5 separate regions of the Homo sapiens genome follow, and regions 2, 3, 4 and 5 are each linked to region 1. Evidence: promoter capture Hi-C in 16 types of primary human blood cells and fetal thymus (Javierre and others, 2016). All regions are on one chromosome and are shown on one strand. Each heading gives the region's core, a stretch centred on a gene start or on the middle of the fragment in contact. The rest is flanking DNA. Distances are from core to core; before and after follow the strand shown. Region 1 holds the start of UTP20 (UTP20 small subunit processome component). Region 2 overlaps WASHC3 (WASH complex subunit 3). Region 3 holds the start of GAS2L3 (growth arrest specific 2 like 3). Region 4 holds the start of DRAM1 (DNA damage regulated autophagy modulator 1). Region 5 has its middle 9.9 kb from the start of GNPTAB.

Region 1 (3,198 bases), core at 490-2,989:
AATCCCAGCTACTCGGGAGGCTGAGGCAGGAGAATCGCTTAAACCTGGGAGGTGGAGATTGCAGTGAGCCAAGATCACGCCACTGCACTCCAACCTGGAGACGGAGCGAGACTCCATCTCAAAAAAATGAATAAATAAATAAAAGTAAAATAAAGGGATGACAGAGTCAGAGTATGGTTAAAACTGGAAAATATTATGTAGTCTAGCCCCTTTATTTTTATAAAGGAGAAAATTAAGCCCCGGGAAAAGGGCTTCCTCAAAATCACTTTAAAGTTATAGCTTCAGGAATATGGATCTGCAGCAGTGCTTGGAATGCATAAGGGAAAGGGAGAGGCTAGAATCACAAAGACAGCTGAAAGTCAAGTCAATTGTCTAATAGAGCTTCACCCAACAGAACTTTCTGCAAAGATGAAAATGTTCCAATTCTATATTTATTCAATATGTTAGCAACTAGCCACATTTGGGCACCCAAATTTTTAATTTACTTTAAATCCAATTTGTCATATGTGGCTACTGTATGAAACAGCACAGGTCTAAAGCATTTCATGTCCAAAAAGGAATACCTTGAAAAACAATTCACTTCTACTAACAGAAGAAACTAAAACACCATGAACACTTGAAGATTGACTAGTATCACATTCTCTTACCTCCTCATAGCTTGCAGTTCTATCAATCCGGTGAATAATATCAATATTAACATTCCCCAGTCGTTCAGCAAATGTAAGAAACTGGAAGGGAAAGTATATTTAAGATACATAATTAATTAAAATTTATCAGATCTTTAATATCTATTTGAATGCTGCATGTAGGCATCTCTAATCACAAAGGATAAGTGGAAAAATAAACTGAAAAACATACGGCCGTAAACAAATTTACTGCATCACTGTTCAAAGATAATGAATACTTCTATGTTTGCATAATTTCTCTCAGCTATGTCATTTCAAATAAAATTTCCATTGCCAGACTGGTGAGCCTAGGTGGATGCTGGCAATTAGTCTCGCTAGATCTATTAGGTTTCATACCCTCCCATAAGCATGGGGACCTAGCAAAGTCGCTGCAATAAAAGTGTTTTTAAACATATACAGACCTATGATTGTATCCTAAGGAAGACCTGGAAACAATCTATCAAGGGGCAAACAGAGAAAGCGCTGTATATTTGCCCTTAGCTGGGAATCACTCACCGCCAGCCGACTCGCCCAATTCGGTCTTTAAAGATAAAAGAGCAGGGGAGAATTGGTCCTAAGCAATCTCCTGGAATAGTGAATTTAATTCTGGACTACAGGAAATTCCCAGGACTGGCCAGACCCCATAAAACATGGGTGAAACTTGCTGTCCACACTTCTTTCCTCCTCCAACCCATGTTTACTACATCCAGTGTCTCCCTCTTTCGCCGGAGCCTCCAGGAAAGTGACACACTCGGCCCAGAAGTCTGAGGCCCCTGGAGTCTCGCTCAGAGCCTGTCTCACGACTGAGGCAGCGGAGACCCGCGGCTCCCTGCCTAAGCTCCCGCGCTCACCCGGTAGGTGTTCTCGGTCTTGTGGGAAACGGGCTTTGTCTTCATGGCTGCAGAGGGCCAGTGGCCCGCGACGGCCTCGGGAGTGTCGAAGGGATGCAACCGACAGTAAGGAGGGGAAAGCGGCTCACAGGCTATACTCTCCGATTCCCAGATGCCCAGACTTTCTCACGTGCGGCTTGAGCCCCTGGGCGCCGCCATGTTGGAGACAAGGAGGAGCCTGAGTGGGTCACGTGGACGGAAAAAAGAACGGCGCAGGCGCACCCTTTGGTGGGGTGGGGCCTACAGGAGGCGGGGCTGCGCACATAAGGGCGGGCGTTTGGGTGAGGTGTTCTTTTCACTCCCTTCGGTAAAGGTTTAGAAGACAAATGTATTTTCATTATAAAATAAAACATACCTGTAATCGTTATCAACTAACATTACTGTCCCTCACTACGTACCTGCATCGTGCAAAGATCCTTTCATCCATAATTTCACAGTAAAGCTTATTAGGGATGTTAATACAAAGGAGGTACTGCGTCTATCTATATATCTATATATAGATATATACTTTTTTTTTTTTTTTTTTGAGACGGAGTCTCACTCTGTCTCCCAGGCTGGAGGGCAGTGGCGCGATCTCGGCTCACTACAATCTCCGCCTCCCGGGTTCAAGCAGTTCTCCTGCCTCAGCGTCCAAAGTAGCTGGGACTACAGGCACCCGCCGCCACGCCCGGCTAATTCTTTTGTATTTTAGTAGAGACGGGGTTTCACCTTGTTGCCCAGGCTGGTCGCGAACTCCTGAGCTCAGGCAATCCGCCCGCCTCGGTTTTCCAAAGTGCTGGGATTACAGGTGTGAGCCACCGCGCCTGGCCGGTACTGTGTATATTTTTAAGCCAATTTGACACAAGAGGAAACCAAGGTTGTGCAGCTGGTAACTGGCAGTCTTCACTCAGACTCTAAATTTTGGTATTCTTAACCACTACGCTGTAAATAAAATTGAAAAATAGAGAAGGAGTTTTAAGAAAAATCTTTTAATTTCATGCACAACCGCTGTTAATGTTTGGTGTTTTTCCCATCACTTTAATGTCTACACATAGCATGTTGTTAAATTGTACAGTTATATATACATATATGTACAATTTTAAAAAATAATTTAAAAATATAATTATTTACCCCATTTTACATTCATTCATTCATTCAGCAACTATTTCTTGAGAGTCCTCTGTGGACCAGGTACTGTTCTGGGAGCCAAACGAGAAAGGCAATAATAGTATTAATTAATTATTTGAAAATATTCACAGCCTTCAATTCCTGGGCTAAAGTGAGCCTCCCACCTCAGCCTCCCAAGTAGCTAGGGCTACAGGCATGCACCACCACACCCAGCTCTTTTATTATTATTATTATTATTATTATTATTATTATTATTATTTGTAGAGATGGGATCTTGCTATATTGCCCAGGCTGGTATCAAACTTCTGGACTCAAGCAGTCCTCTTGGCTTGGCCTCCCAAAGTGCTGGGATTACAGGGGTGAGCCACCATGCCCAGACTGGAAATACTTGGTCTGAGATGCTTACATTTTAGTCAAGGAGTGATGTTAAGTAGACAATTGGATATATTGTTGTACAGAGCTCACTGTAGCAGTCTGGGCTGCAGACGTGACTTAAATACACCTAAATACCTCAAGTGTGAGGCATTTGCGACTGG
Region 2 (3,198 bases), core at 206-2,705, 770 kb before region 1:
AGATCTTTTGTTCCTTTCTTCCACTCTTGCTGTCTTTTGTGATTAGATGATTGTCTCTAGTGATATACTTTGATTCCTTACTTTTCATCTTTTGTGTATTTACTATTAGGTTTTTGCTTTGTTGTTCCCATGAGGCTGACATAAAACATGTTATAACAGGCTATTTTAAACTGATAATAACATAATTGATAACATAAAAAACCTCTGCACTTTTACTCCACCTCTCCACATTTTGCTTTTGATTTTGCAACGTATATCTTTTTATACTGCATATCCCTTAACAAGTTATTGTAGCTATTATTATTTTTAATAGTTTTGTCTGTTAACTTTCATACTAAAGATATAAGTGATTTAATCACCATGACAGTATTAGAATATTCTGAATTTGACTGTATACATTTTTTTTTCAGCTCTAAAATTTCTGTTTGATTTTTTAAATAATAATTCCAATCTTTCTGTTACATTTCTCATTTTGGTCATTTATTATTTTCTTGATTTCATTGAATTGTTTCTCTGAATTTTCCTGAAGTCCACTGAGTTTCCCTAAAACAATAATTTTGGATTCGTTGTGAAGAAGGGTCAGTTACTGGTGATTTGTTTCTTTAGTAGTGACGTGTTTCTCTGATTATTCTTGGTCTTTGTGGCCATGTGTTGGTATGTGTGTGTTTGAAGAAGTAAGGACTTACTCCAGTCTTTGCAGACTGGCTTTGTCTGGGAAAGCCCTTCACCAGTAAGCTCATCCAGAGGTTCTAGACAGGCCATCTGTTGTGGTGCATGGCAGGCTTGCTGCTGGAGTCCTTGGGTAGGCTGGCCTGGTGCCTAGGTTCGTAGGGTTGTTCCTGGAGCCTGATCCACTGGGGTGGACCTGCTGATTAGCTCTATAGGGGTGGGCCTGGATCCTTAGGGTTCCAACTTGAAGCCTAAGTCTGCAGGGGTTGGTCTGGCACTGGGGTGAGCCTTGAGCCTGAGTCTGCAGTGTCTGGCCAGGTTCCAAGGTGGGCCTGGTGCTTGGAACCCCTGGGGTGGACCTGGAGCCAGAGTATGTGGGGGTGGGCCTGGGTCCTGGTTGTACTGTGACTAGCCTGGAGCCTGAGTCTGCAGGAGTGGTCCTGCAGCCTCCGTCCATGGGGGCCAATCTGGCAATGCAATCTACTGGGGTGGTCCCAGACTCTGGGTCTGCTGGAACATACCTAGACCCTGACTCACCACAGGGATTTGTCTGGGGCCAGCTTGGTGCTGGGGCAAGTGTGCAGCCTGGGGTCACAGGGGCCAGACTGGAGCCTGAGATTATAGGTGCTGGCCTGGTAACTTGGGCTACATGGGGCTGGCCTGGGTCCTACGGCAATAGTGGCTAGCCTGGAACTTGAGTCCACAGGGATGGTCCTGGAGCCTGTGTTTATGGGTGTCAGCCCAACAGAAGGGCCTACTGGGATGGGCCTAAACCCTACTTCCACTAGGGTATGGGCTGCAGGAGCCAGACTGGGGCCACAGGAGCTGACTTGGCACTGGTCAGGCCTGGAACCTATATCTGCAGGAGCTGACCTGGTGCTGGGGTGGGCCTGAACCTTGGGCCCATGGAGGCTAGCCCTGTGCTGGGATTGGTCCAGAACCTAGGGCCACTGGGGCTGGCCTGTCCCTAGAGCAGACCTGGAGACAATCTATGCAGTCTTGCCTGGTGCTGGGACTGTCCTGAGCCTTGAGCTGGTCTGGAACCTACGGTCCCAGTGGGACAAGCCTAGAACTCAGGACTGGGTGATCCAGCCTAGTGCCAGGATGGGCCTAAAGGCTTCGCCTGCAGGTGTCAGCCTGGAGTCTGGGCTGAGGGGGCTTGCTCAGCACTGAGTTCTGCTGGGGTGGGCCTGGTGTTGTGGTCCAAGGCAAAGTCCTGTGCTCACTGCCTCTCCTTCGCCCACCTGGAGGGTATCTCTCTCCATGCTGTGCTGCCTGGAGTTGGGGGAAGGGTGACATGAGTTCTGTAAAACTGTCCTTCTTACCCTCTTCAGTGTGTTTTTTCTTACTTTTGTGCTAAACCCAGTGCTGTAATTTCTCACCTGGTCTCCTTAGCTCTTGAGAATGTATTTTCGTGCGTGAATAGTTTTTCAAATGGATGTTTCTGTGGGAGGATCAGTGCTGGAAAGTCCTATTCCCCCATCTTGCTGTTGTCCCACCTTTTTCTCCTTTATGTATGATAATCTAGGGTTGACTGTAACTGATTGTCTACAATATATATTTTAGCAATTTGGATATTCATGTCAGCTGGAGACTGCTCAATGAGATAACAACTAATATTTATTGTGTACTTCCTCTGTGCTGGGCATCATACTAAGTGCTTTATGTGTATTTAATTATCGCAGTCAGTCCTTTGAGAGAGGTTTAGTTATCCCACTCATACAGATACAGAAACTAAGATGTAGAGAAGTTTAAATCATTTGCTTAGTCATTCATTCATTCAACATATCTTTGCATGCCCCCAGTAGTTGTAGCTGCATTAGCTGCACATACACAGATAGAAAGTAGCAGAACTGGATTCCCACTGATTTTTTAACTGGAAAAGTCAATATCTCATTGCTTTCTTACATTGCACTGCTTTATCTGATTAAGAAGCATGCTTATGTCAACTTCAAGTGAGAGAGTGCAGTACAAGTACCTTCTTATAGCTATATTAAAATCTATTTTTAGACTCATTCACTTCTTTGCTATGCTATGTCTGTTTGATGTAATATATTTTTATGTCAATTCCAAAGATACATGTATTCAAATGTAAGGTGCCATTTTCTCCCAAGGTAAAGTCACTTTGGTGTTTTGAAATGTTTTTGTTAATAGTGCCTAATAGGCCTCTAGTCCTTATTTATTTAAAGCCTCAAACAAGAACCAACTGACTGTTTCTCTCAACAAAAGAGGAACCTCAACTGTTAGTTTTTGAACTGAGAGTGAACTGGGAGGAAAAAGAAAACTTTTCCCACCCCCCGACAGGATCTGGTTTGAACCAAACCCAACCTTAAACAACTTCAGTCACAGATAAACCCTCAAGCCAGAATTAAGTTTGAAACAAATTGCTAGGGTTCTTTCTTCATCAGTGGCACTGTTTCTAGAGTTCTTCATTAAAGAGAAGAGTATAAAACTGCATTCTGTGAAGAACTCAACTTTGCAAAAACTTTCTGCATATTAGGCTACTTTTGTAACTCTTCCAGTGATTGG
Region 3 (3,198 bases), core at 425-2,924, 710 kb after region 1:
TGTGTCAGATACTGTTTTAAATGCTTTACATGTATAATTTAGTCAATAAACAATAATTATCCCTATCTCTGGTACTGCCTTCACCTTCTACCTCTCCCCATCCTTTGGGGAGAGCTCAAAACTTTTTGTCTAAGTTAAACAGCAGAGAAATAATAATAGCTATGTATCAGGCACTGTGCTAAATTAGTTACGTGGAATTTCATTTAATCTTTACAACAATCCTCTCAATAAAGTAGGAACTATTATTAACCTTCTTTCACAGACTAGGAAATTTAGGCTTAGAAGGATTAAATAATGTGTCTAAAGTCAGATATCCAATGAAGTCTGATTTCAGAGCCCCCCTGCTTAGCAACTCTGTCACGCTAAAAAAAAAAAAATTACTACTTCTAATTCAATGTCAGATAGCAAACACCTACTGTTCAATGACAGTTGGTTTCTAATGAGATTTTGAAACAGATGAGTCAGACAACAGGTATCGGCATCTACACCAGATCACTAGAGTTTCCACTTCTGTCATTTGAAACAGTTCCAATTTGTTCCCAAAGGGAATCTGAGGTGGTGAGAATTTCAATTTCTAATCATTTAAGTGCCAAGACAGGTGATCAGATAGCAATTCACAAAGCGGTTCTGTTGTTCTTGTTGTTTTTGTTTGTTTGTTTTTTGCTCTTCACACAAGCGAAGCAAAACCCAGGCTCTGACCTAAAATCATCTCTTTGCAACCACTGGGGATCAGCTATTCCACCATGCCATGCCACAAAGCACTCAAATTTACAACATTCAATCCCTCGGTGTGAAAAGATTAGGAAAGGAACCACGGGTGACTGCATAGAGGAGCACGCCCTCCAAAACTTTCCTCTGACTTCCAAGGCACTCTACAAGCCTTCCCTTTCTTTTGCCAGCCTCTCCCCGGGCAGTCCTCCAAACTGAGGGTTGTGGGCGGAAGGCATCGCGCAGGGTCTCCAGCTCTATTCCCCAGTTCCGCACATGTGGGCGTTCTAGACCCTGCATGGACTGGGAGAAAAAACAGGGAAGAGCCTATAAACCTTGCTAGAGGGCAAGAATAACTGTCTGTCTCTTTCTCTTTGCAGGGCCAGAGACTTCATCAATTCTTTCCGAGGATGATGAACAGAAAAAAACAGACCCTCTAAGTGCCAGGCGCTTAGGGATGAGGGTGCCCCTGAAGATCCCACAGTACCTTCGGGCTCTGATACCGCTCTGGATTTAAAGCAGGGCGAGTAGCGGCTGGATCCCTCCTCCCCAGCTGAGCTCGCCCACACCAGCAGCCCCAACCGCCCCGCACACCTGTCGCCCCTCTCTCCGCACTTGGGTGGACAGGTGAAGGCAGGCGCAACGTCACCTTGACGGCCCCAGGAGCCAATCAGAGCACGCGACTGCCGCAGCCAGGCAAACGCAGAGCGTACTGGCTCCCGCAGCCGGGAGACCCAACAAACCTCAGCTTCGGGGCCTCAGAGAGCGGGGGGCTCCTGGAGCCCTCAGGCTGAGGCGCGGAGGCCCCGAGACAGCGCGTAAAAGTTCGCCAGGAAAAGAGAAGACAAACAGGGAAGTACTCACCAGGCGCAGGAGGGTCACTTCTCCCAGCGGGGCGACAACTCGGCTCAATCTGTGCGGGGCCAACACGCCCCTGACCAACCGCCGCCGCTGCCGCCGCCGCCTGGGCCTCAGGGTCAGTAGCCGCTGGCCGCCGCCTGTTTCGAAGGGACCAATCATAAGGCGGGGGCGTGGTCTGAGGCCCCGCCCCCGGGCTGCCGGGAAGCACGCGACCCGTGGGCGCTCGCCTGTCAGCGCGTCCAGCGCTGCGCCTCCGGGCGTCTCGGAGCTTCGGTGGCCAAGTCCCTCTGTTCACTGAAAGGCGAAGTGGTTCAGTCAGAGCAGGTCCTCCGATCTGGCCTTTCAGCGACAGCCAGTTCGAAAGCCACAGCCCGTCCTGTTGTTCCCACAGGCCTGAGAGGTGAATGAACCTCGCCTGTAATAATTGCTTCTGAGCGTCCTGGAATGTTGCGGTGCAGCTGAAGGCGCTTCCCTGAGTTTTATCCTGGTCTGTTAAGAGCCGCTCCCAACCCCACATCCACTCGGGAGCTGGCTGACCTGAGGGCGCCACGGTTTCCAGAGACGCAGCCTGGAACCCAGCAGGAATGGGGGTCCTCAGCAGAAATCTTTCAGAGAGAGGCCCCTCTTCTCAGGTGCGGAGGGATGAGGAGGAATCCTGTAGTCCCAAGTCACAAAAGGAGGATGTTGACTCTTCAGCAAACACCGGAGCCTGAAAACAAAACAAAACAAAACAAAAAAACAATGAACTTCAACGTAAGGGATGCTTACTAGCTCCCAGGGTTGAAATAAAGCCGAGACTAGACATCAGTGTAACAATCCCAAGTCGGTTATATCTGTAAATGTGGCTTGTTTCATAGCAAAAAATAAAATAAATAAATAAATAATTTTTTAAAAAAATCACTGGCTTTGTCCCCGAGGCCTGTGTTGCAGCCCAGGCCCTTCTTTTTTTTTTTTTTTTTTTTTTTTTTTTTTTTTTGAGACAGGGTCTTGCCCTGTCACCCAGGCTGGAGTGCGGTGGCACGATCTCGGCTCACTGCAGCCTTGATCTCACGGACTCAAGAGATCCTCCCACCTCAGCCTCCAGAGTAGCCAGGATTACAGGCCTGTGCCACCACACCGGGCTAATTTTTGTGTTTTTTGTAGAAATGGGTTTTTGCCATGTTGCCCAGGCTGGTCTTGAACTCCTGGGCTCCAGTGATCCTCCCACCTCGGCCTCCCAAAGTGCTGGGATTACAGGCGTTAGCCACCTCACCCGGCCCTATTCAGTCTTTTAGCCTTCCTCAAATCATGTCTCCTCTCTGGGCCTCAGGTCTCCATCTGTGAATGGTGGGCACTGAACTGGAATGACATCTCTCTCTAGCATTTATTCCTTCCTTTACTCAACAAAAACAATGAGATGTACTGTTGCTTGCTAAAGAAACTGAAATGAAAACAGCCTTAGGCTTCAAAGTGCTCAGCAGCATGGTAAAGGCCAAATGGAAGTCTGTGGAGGTCCATGAAAGAAGGAACCCCTAAGAGTCTTGAAGGGTGATGGCAGAGGTTTGAAAGGAGCTGAATTTTTAAAGATGAATTAAGACTCTGCCAGGAGGGAGGGATAACTGGGAATAAGAATTAATTTCCAGGCAGAGA
Region 4 (3,198 bases), core at 347-2,846, 600 kb before region 1:
AAATACAAAAAAATTAAGCCAGGTGTGGTGGTGCACGCCTGTAATCTCAGCTACTTGGGAGGCTGAGGCAGGAGAATCGCTTGAACCCGGGAGGCAGAGGTTGCGGTGAGCCGAGATTGTGTCACTGCACTCCAGCCTGGGCGACAGAACAAGACTCTGTCTCAAAAAAATAAAAAAAATTTTAAAAAATGCTAGTCCCCTCTTGCTCGATCTTTGTTTCCCCTTTCTCCACACTCCTCACCCCCACCCCCAAAAAAAGGAAAAAAACAAACAAACAAACAAAAAAACACAGAACATTGCTCACCAGACAGAATGGCTGCAGGGAAGAAGACGCCCTACATTTTCTATCATAGCAGTAACAAACCTTGGGTGTCACCAACCTTATCATCCGTTCACCAACCAATGCCTGTCCAGAGGGGTCACACTACTTAGATAAGGATGGATGGTTCTAACGTTTAAAGAATCCTGCCACTATGAGAAAGGCACTGAGCTGGAACCCACATAGGAGGATCAGACCACTGTCCCTGGCACTGAAGTGCCCCTCAGGAAGGTAGAGGCCAAAGCACAGGAAAAGTGAATGGGTAAAATAACACAAAAGATGTCACAAGTTGTTGACAAGTTGAGGACTTTGGGGTCACAGTGCCCAGAGGTGTCTGGTGCAGCTCCAGAGAATTTAAGCCAGACTCCCAGAGACCTGGGGGCAGCACAGTGTTGCTTTCTGCATGGCCGGGTGTGAATTCTGCTCCTACCATTAACTAGTGTGACATCAGTGTCACGTTGATGATATTTCATCAACTTTACACCACCGCTCGCTTGCGGGAATAATAAGCCCAAACATCCACTTCAAGGGATGTTGGGATGCAGAAGTGAAAATAGTGGCTGTTTAGCATATACCTGGATCTACCTCTTGTATAATATATGTCATCTATCAGAACCCATCTTGTTTCAATATCGCCTAAGAACGTCCTGCTGAGATTCTGTCCCATACCCAGAATGAAAGCTCTACCATCTATCCTGAACCTCTCCTTGCTGCCACCCTGTTCCATGCTCCGGGTACAGGCAGAAGTGCTCAGCGCCGCACCCGCTGCCTCCCTAAACATCCCAGGCTATCGGGAGCACCTCTCCTCCTGCTCCCACCTCTGCCTGACCACACGACGCCCCAAGCTGGGTCCGGACGCCTTCCCTCCCCGTCGGCAGCGCTCCCTGTGGTCCCTGTGCCTGCTCCTGGGGCCCTGACGCCCACCCTGCCACTCACCTGATATACGGGAGGAAGGGGTTGACGTGCCCGGAGAGCACGGCGACCACGTAGGAGATAATGAAGGCGGCTGACGACCAGGTCACCAAGAGGAAGGGGACGAAAGCCATTCCCCTCAGGAAGCACAGCATCGCGCCGCCGCCGCCGCCGACGGAGTGCTGCGCCCAGCGGGGCCGGGCGCCGGGTTGCTCCGGGCTGCCTGGAGGCGGCGGCCGGGCGCGTACACTCACGGACGGTGGGAGGGGAGGCTCCGCGACGGCCGGGGCAGGCCCAGCCCCGGAGGGAGGGGAAGCGCGAGGAGCGGAGCGAGGCTGCGGGCGGCGAGGCTGCCGGGCCAGAGTGGGTGGGGCGCGGGCTGCCCGGGCTTGTTGCGAAACGAGTGAAGTCACAAAGCGGCCCGGCAGGGTCGGAGGCGCCCGGCGAGCTCCAAGCGGACGCGACTACGGAGCCGCCGGAGGGGACGCGGGGTCGGGTTCCTTTCGCTTTTGGTTTGGACACTCGGCGGAGGCCGGGTTGGGCGCGGACGGGCGGCGTGGGGTCACTGGCGGGGACGCCCGCTCTGGCCTTCCCACTCTGGCCCTACCGCGCTGGCTCTTGCGCAACTCTGGAGAAAAGGATTTATTTCTCCCAACCCCTCCCTCCCGGGGGATTTCCGGAGTGCCGGGCCTCGCACCCCGAGGGCGCCCCCTCCGAGGTCCCGCCGCCGGCGCTTCGCAGCAGTGAGAGTGGCCACCGCGTGGTGACACCCATGCCATCCGGTCGCGCTGCTGCTGCGGGGGTCGGGCAGAAGTGTTCAATGAGGTTCGCCAGGTCACGGGGCGCAGATGTGGCTCCCACCTCAATGGTGAACACCCGAAAACCCAGACAGGGTGGGAACGGGTGGGGTGGAGAGTACGCGGGTGGGGTGCGGGGCAGGCGGGTGGGACTGCGCGCCCACGGAGCCGGGAGGCCCATTGTGCTGCTTTCCAGGAGAGCGCAACTGGAGAATATTTCCTGGAAATAAGATTTCCCAGGCCGGGCGCCGTGAATAGCCATCACTTTGGGAGGCATCCAAAAGCCATCACCCCTGGAATGCCACCACTTTGGGAGGCCGAGTTGGGAGGATCGCTTGAACCCAAGAACTAGAGATCAGCCTGGGTAACATAGCGAAACCCCTCTTCTACAAAAAAAAAAAAAAAAAATGAAAAAGAAAAAAAGCCGGTTCCAGTTACTCGGGAGACTGAGTTGGGATGATCACTTGAGCCTTGGGGGTCGAGGCTGCAGTGAGCCTTTATCACACCACTTCACTCGGCCTGGGTGACAGAGCAAGACCTTGTCTCAAAAAACAAACAAACAAAAAAAAAACAAAAAAAACTCCCCTCCAGGTTCTGGAGTAGCCCAGACTCGGAGCCTTGGCCTAAGATGATTAATAGTGACTTGATACATTTCAAGCCCTGTGAAAGGGATTTGTGTTCTGGAGGCACTTATAATATAAGCACATGATTTTGATAGTTTAGGGAGTCTGAGCCCAACATATGTGGCCAAAATTGTTGGGTCATTGGTGACCAAAGATAGGTTCCTTTCAGCCACAAACACATTTCATGGGCGCCATGCTAGGCTACAAAGATGAAATAGTAATAGTACCCTCAGGACGAGGACACTCATAGATCAAAATAACAAAATTAGGCCAGGCGTGGTGGCTCATGCCTGTAATCCTAGCACTTTGGGAGGCCAAGGTGGGTGGATCACCTGAGGTCAGGAGTTCGAGACCAGCCTGGCCAACATGGTGAAACCCCATCTCTACTAAAAATACAAAAAATTAGTCAGGCATCATGGCTCACGCCTGTAATCCCAGCTACTCAGGAGGCTGAGGCAGGAGAATCGCTTGAACCTGGGAAATGGAGGTTTTCTCAGTGAGCTGAGATCACACCACTGCATTTCAGCCTGGGTGAGAGAACGAGACT
Region 5 (3,198 bases), core at 226-2,725, 560 kb before region 1:
TTTCCTTTTCATAAGCTTCTCTCTATTCACACTAACCCTAATAATTATTCACCCTTCTTTTGGTATAATCTAGGGGTTCTTGCCACATTCATTTATTCGTTCCTTTAGCCTAAAATGTCAGAAGCACCAGTTATTACTCTTTCACTGTGATATTTATACTTTGGATAAATTAACTCTGAAATTTCCTTGTTGGTTGGCATCACTTGGACTTTTACTGTGCTCCTGGGATTGGTTACAGTGAGTTTAATACATCTAGAGCACTGCCAAAGCATTATAGCAAAATATCAGAGTATCCCTGACAGTATTCTGGAAAGCAGACTATGCAAAATGCAAAAGTCTCCCTATTTAATTATGAACTTGACATTGCAATGAATTAGAGAATCAGCATTTATGGATAATCAAATATATATATTGAGTGCTCACTGCTTTGGGTGTTTTGTTTGCTTGTTTGTTTGTTTCCGGTGGGGTTGGAAGCTTTGGTTTTAAGGAGATGAAAACTAAAGAAAGTTCCAAATGCTTGGAGATCAGAAAATTGATCCAGTTTTCAAACACCAGGTACAAAGATGAGGGTAGGAGTTAGCTTTTGCAAATAGGTAGATTCTGCAAAGTACATCACAGTGGACTTCATATTGATCCTGAGGTTTGTGAGAACTTAAACAGGGAAGAAATTAGGAACTAAGGGGGAGACAGGAGAGACAAGACAGACAGAAAAATACACAGAGGGAATTTTCTTTCTTTCTTTCTTTCTCTCTTTCTTTCTTTTTTTTTGAGACAAAGTCTCACTCTGTTGCCCAGGCTGGAGTGCAGTGGCCTGATCTCGGCTCACTGCAAGCTCTGCCTCCTGGGGTTCACGCCATTCTCCTGCCTCAGCCTCCCGAGTAGCTGGGACTACAGGCGCCTGCCACCACACCCGGCTAATTTTTTGTATTTTTAGTAGAGACGGGGTTTCACCATGTTAGCCAGGATGGTCTCCATCTCCTGACCTCGTGATCCGCCCACCTTGGCCTCCCAAAGTGCTGGGATTATAGGCGTGAAACACTGAGCCCAGCCTCTTTGTTTCTTTCTCTCTCTCTTTCTTTCTTTCTCTCTCTCTCGCTCTCTCTTTTTCTTTTTCTTTCTTTCTTTCTTCTTTCTTTCTTTTCTTTCTTTCTTTCTTTTTCTTTCTTTCCCCCTCTCTCTCCCTTCCTTCCTTTCTTCCTCCTTTCCTTCTTTTCTTTTCTTTTGTCTTACTCTTTTGCCCAGGATGGAGTGCAGTGGTGCTATCACAACTCATTGTAACCTCAAACTTCTCAGCTCAAGTGATCCTCCCTCCTCAGCCTCCCAAGTAGCTAGAACTACAAGTCTGTACCACCACACCTAGCTAATTTAATTTTTTTTTTTTTTGAGATGGAGTCTCACTCTTATCACCCAGGCTAGAGTACAATGGCACAATCTCGACTCACTGCAACCTCCCCCTCCCGGGTTCAAGCGATTCTCAAGCCTCAGCCTCCTGAGTAGCTCGGATTACAGGCATGCGCCACCAGGCCTGGCTAATTTTTTTATTTTTAGTAGAGACGAGGTTTCGCCATGTTGGCCAGGCTGGTCCGTCTTGAACTCCTGATCTCAGGTGATCCACCCGCCTTGGCCTCCCAAAGTGCTGGGATTACAGGCGTGAGCCACTGCACGCGGCTAATTTTTTTTCTTTTCATAGAGATGGGTCTCACGATGTGCCCAGGCCAGTCTTAAACTCCTGGGCTCAAGCGACCCTCCAACCTTGGCCTCCCAAAGCACTGGGATTACAGGCATGAGCCAAAGCCATTGGTGAGAATATTTTCTTTTTGAGCAAACCTGAAACTTTACAAAAATGGACAATGTGCTAGGCAACGAAGGAAGAGTCAATGAATTCCAAGGAGTTTTACTATTATACAAGCTATGTTCTCTTACCTTATTTTGGTCAGGGTAATTATTTGTAGATTAAGGAATCTATTCACTGATTTAAACAGAAAGGGATTAAGTTGGCCTACCCATAAGCCCTCAGGAGGTCTGAACAAAGAGCCTTTACCTATGACAGTATTCTAGATAGAGACTACTAGGTTGAATTTGTAAGATCAGGTCCTAATACTCCACTGAACTAAGCTGTCAAGGGAGCTACTGACGCTGCCGGGATCAGAAAGAGCAGGATCAGGATGCTTTCTACAGAGGCAGGAAGCTGCTTCCAACTGCACCACACCTGCCTTGACTCACTCACTCCAGCCAAAACAGGCGCCCTTTGCACTGCCTCTCTCTCTCCATGTAGCTTACTTCCAGGTTGAAATCTTCTGTGAATTCACCTGATTAGGAGAACTTCAACCACACCTAGAACCCTGGCTTCAAGGATATGCCAATAATCAATTGTTGCCTCTCAGTTCCAAATTCACTCCTTCAGAACTTGCTGTGTATTAATGAATTGGACTTCTTTTGAAGCGTTTCTTTTGCAGTGAGTGTGATGTGAAGCTTTGCCAGTAGAGGGCGATGAAGGAATGTTGCAGGAAGAAGGTGGCATCACCCCCCGCCCCAACTCTTTCCATATTTGCTCCCCTCCCTTCCTCCGTCCTTTTAAAAATATTTATTTATTTGGCATAAAATTTTTTTACTGCTCTTTGTGGAGCAGGGCTACCCCATGGTGTGCCCATTTATTTTTTATTTATTTATTTTTTTAGAGACAGGGTCTCACTATGCTGCCCAGGCTGATCTCAAACTCCTGGGCTCAAGTGATCCTCCCACCTTGGCCTCCCAAAGTGTGCTGGGATTACAGGCATGAGGCATTGTTCCTGGGTTTTTTGTTTGTTTGTTTTGTTGTTGTTATTGTTTGTTTGTTTGTTTTTTTTTTCCACAGGATCTTGCTCTGTCACCCAGGCTGGAGAGCAGTGGTACAATCACAGCTCACTGCAGCCTCAAACTCTTGGGCTCAGGAAACTCTCCTGCCTCAGCCTCCTGAGTACTGAGTAGCTGGTACTACAGGCACGGGCCACAATGCCTGGCTAATTTCTTTCTTTAAAAAGTTTTTGTAGAGATGGGGATCTCAATATGTTTCCCAGGCTGGTCTTGAACTCATGACCTCAAGCAATCCTCCTGCCTTGGTGTTCCAAGGTTCTGGGACTACTGGCATGAGCCACTGGGCCACTCTTCTTTTCTAGATTTCATTGTTTGGTTTTTGTGTTTTCTTCTTCCTGCCACATG

Evidence for each region. Contacts are between HindIII fragments. The CHiCAGO score rates a contact against its expected background, and 5 or more counts as called.
Region 2: a contact is called between a fragment that was not itself captured here and the fragment with the promoter of UTP20 in region 1, in 2 of 17 cell types (activated CD4 T cells and total CD8 T cells). The highest score is 5.2, in activated CD4 T cells.
Region 3: the fragment with the promoter of GAS2L3 here is called in contact with the fragment with the promoter of UTP20 in region 1 in 1 of 17 cell types (monocytes); the score reaches 7.3 in monocytes.
Region 4: the fragment with the promoter of DRAM1 here is called in contact with the fragment with the promoter of UTP20 in region 1 in 1 of 17 cell types (monocytes); the score reaches 5.1 in monocytes.
Region 5: a contact is called between a fragment that was not itself captured here and the fragment with the promoter of UTP20 in region 1, in 4 of 17 cell types (fetal thymus, naive CD4 T cells, naive CD8 T cells and 1 more). The highest score is 7.0, in fetal thymus.

What each region holds. Positions count from the first base shown.
Region 1 is chr12:101,278,646-101,281,843 of GRCh38, reverse strand. It overlaps UTP20 (UTP20 small subunit processome component), which reads right to left and starts at 1,739. Exons shown (of 62, transcript NM_014503.3): 1 at 1,517-1,739; 2 at 648-728. The coding sequence starts at 1,561. RefSeq lists enhancers at 1,666-1,715, 1,449-2,040. The HindIII fragment of the contact is 7,469 bases long and covers 1-1,999 here.
Region 2 is chr12:102,050,984-102,054,181 of GRCh38, reverse strand. All of the region lies in intron 2 of WASHC3 (WASH complex subunit 3), which reads left to right. Among named protein-coding and RNA genes, the nearest start is that of WASHC3, 9.4 kb to the left of the region's middle. The HindIII fragment of the contact is 4,399 bases long and covers 1-3,198 here.
Region 3 is chr12:100,572,160-100,575,357 of GRCh38, reverse strand. It overlaps GAS2L3 (growth arrest specific 2 like 3), which reads right to left and starts at 1,674. Exons shown (of 10, transcript NM_174942.3): 1 at 1,573-1,674. RefSeq lists an enhancer at 1,380-1,669 and a silencer at 1,700-1,829. The HindIII fragment of the contact is 13,205 bases long and covers 1-3,198 here.
Region 4 is chr12:101,875,978-101,879,175 of GRCh38, reverse strand. DRAM1 (DNA damage regulated autophagy modulator 1) reads right to left here and starts at 1,596. Exons shown (of 7, transcript NM_018370.3): 1 at 1,256-1,596. The coding sequence starts at 1,386. RefSeq lists enhancers at 710-759, 900-989, 628-1,409, 1,570-1,619, 1,410-2,192 and silencers at 1,210-1,549, 1,800-1,959. The HindIII fragment of the contact is 18,310 bases long and covers 1-3,198 here.
Region 5 is chr12:101,839,235-101,842,432 of GRCh38, reverse strand. No RefSeq gene overlaps it. Among named protein-coding and RNA genes, the nearest start is that of GNPTAB, 9.9 kb to the right of the region's middle. The HindIII fragment of the contact is 1,998 bases long and covers 477-2,474 here.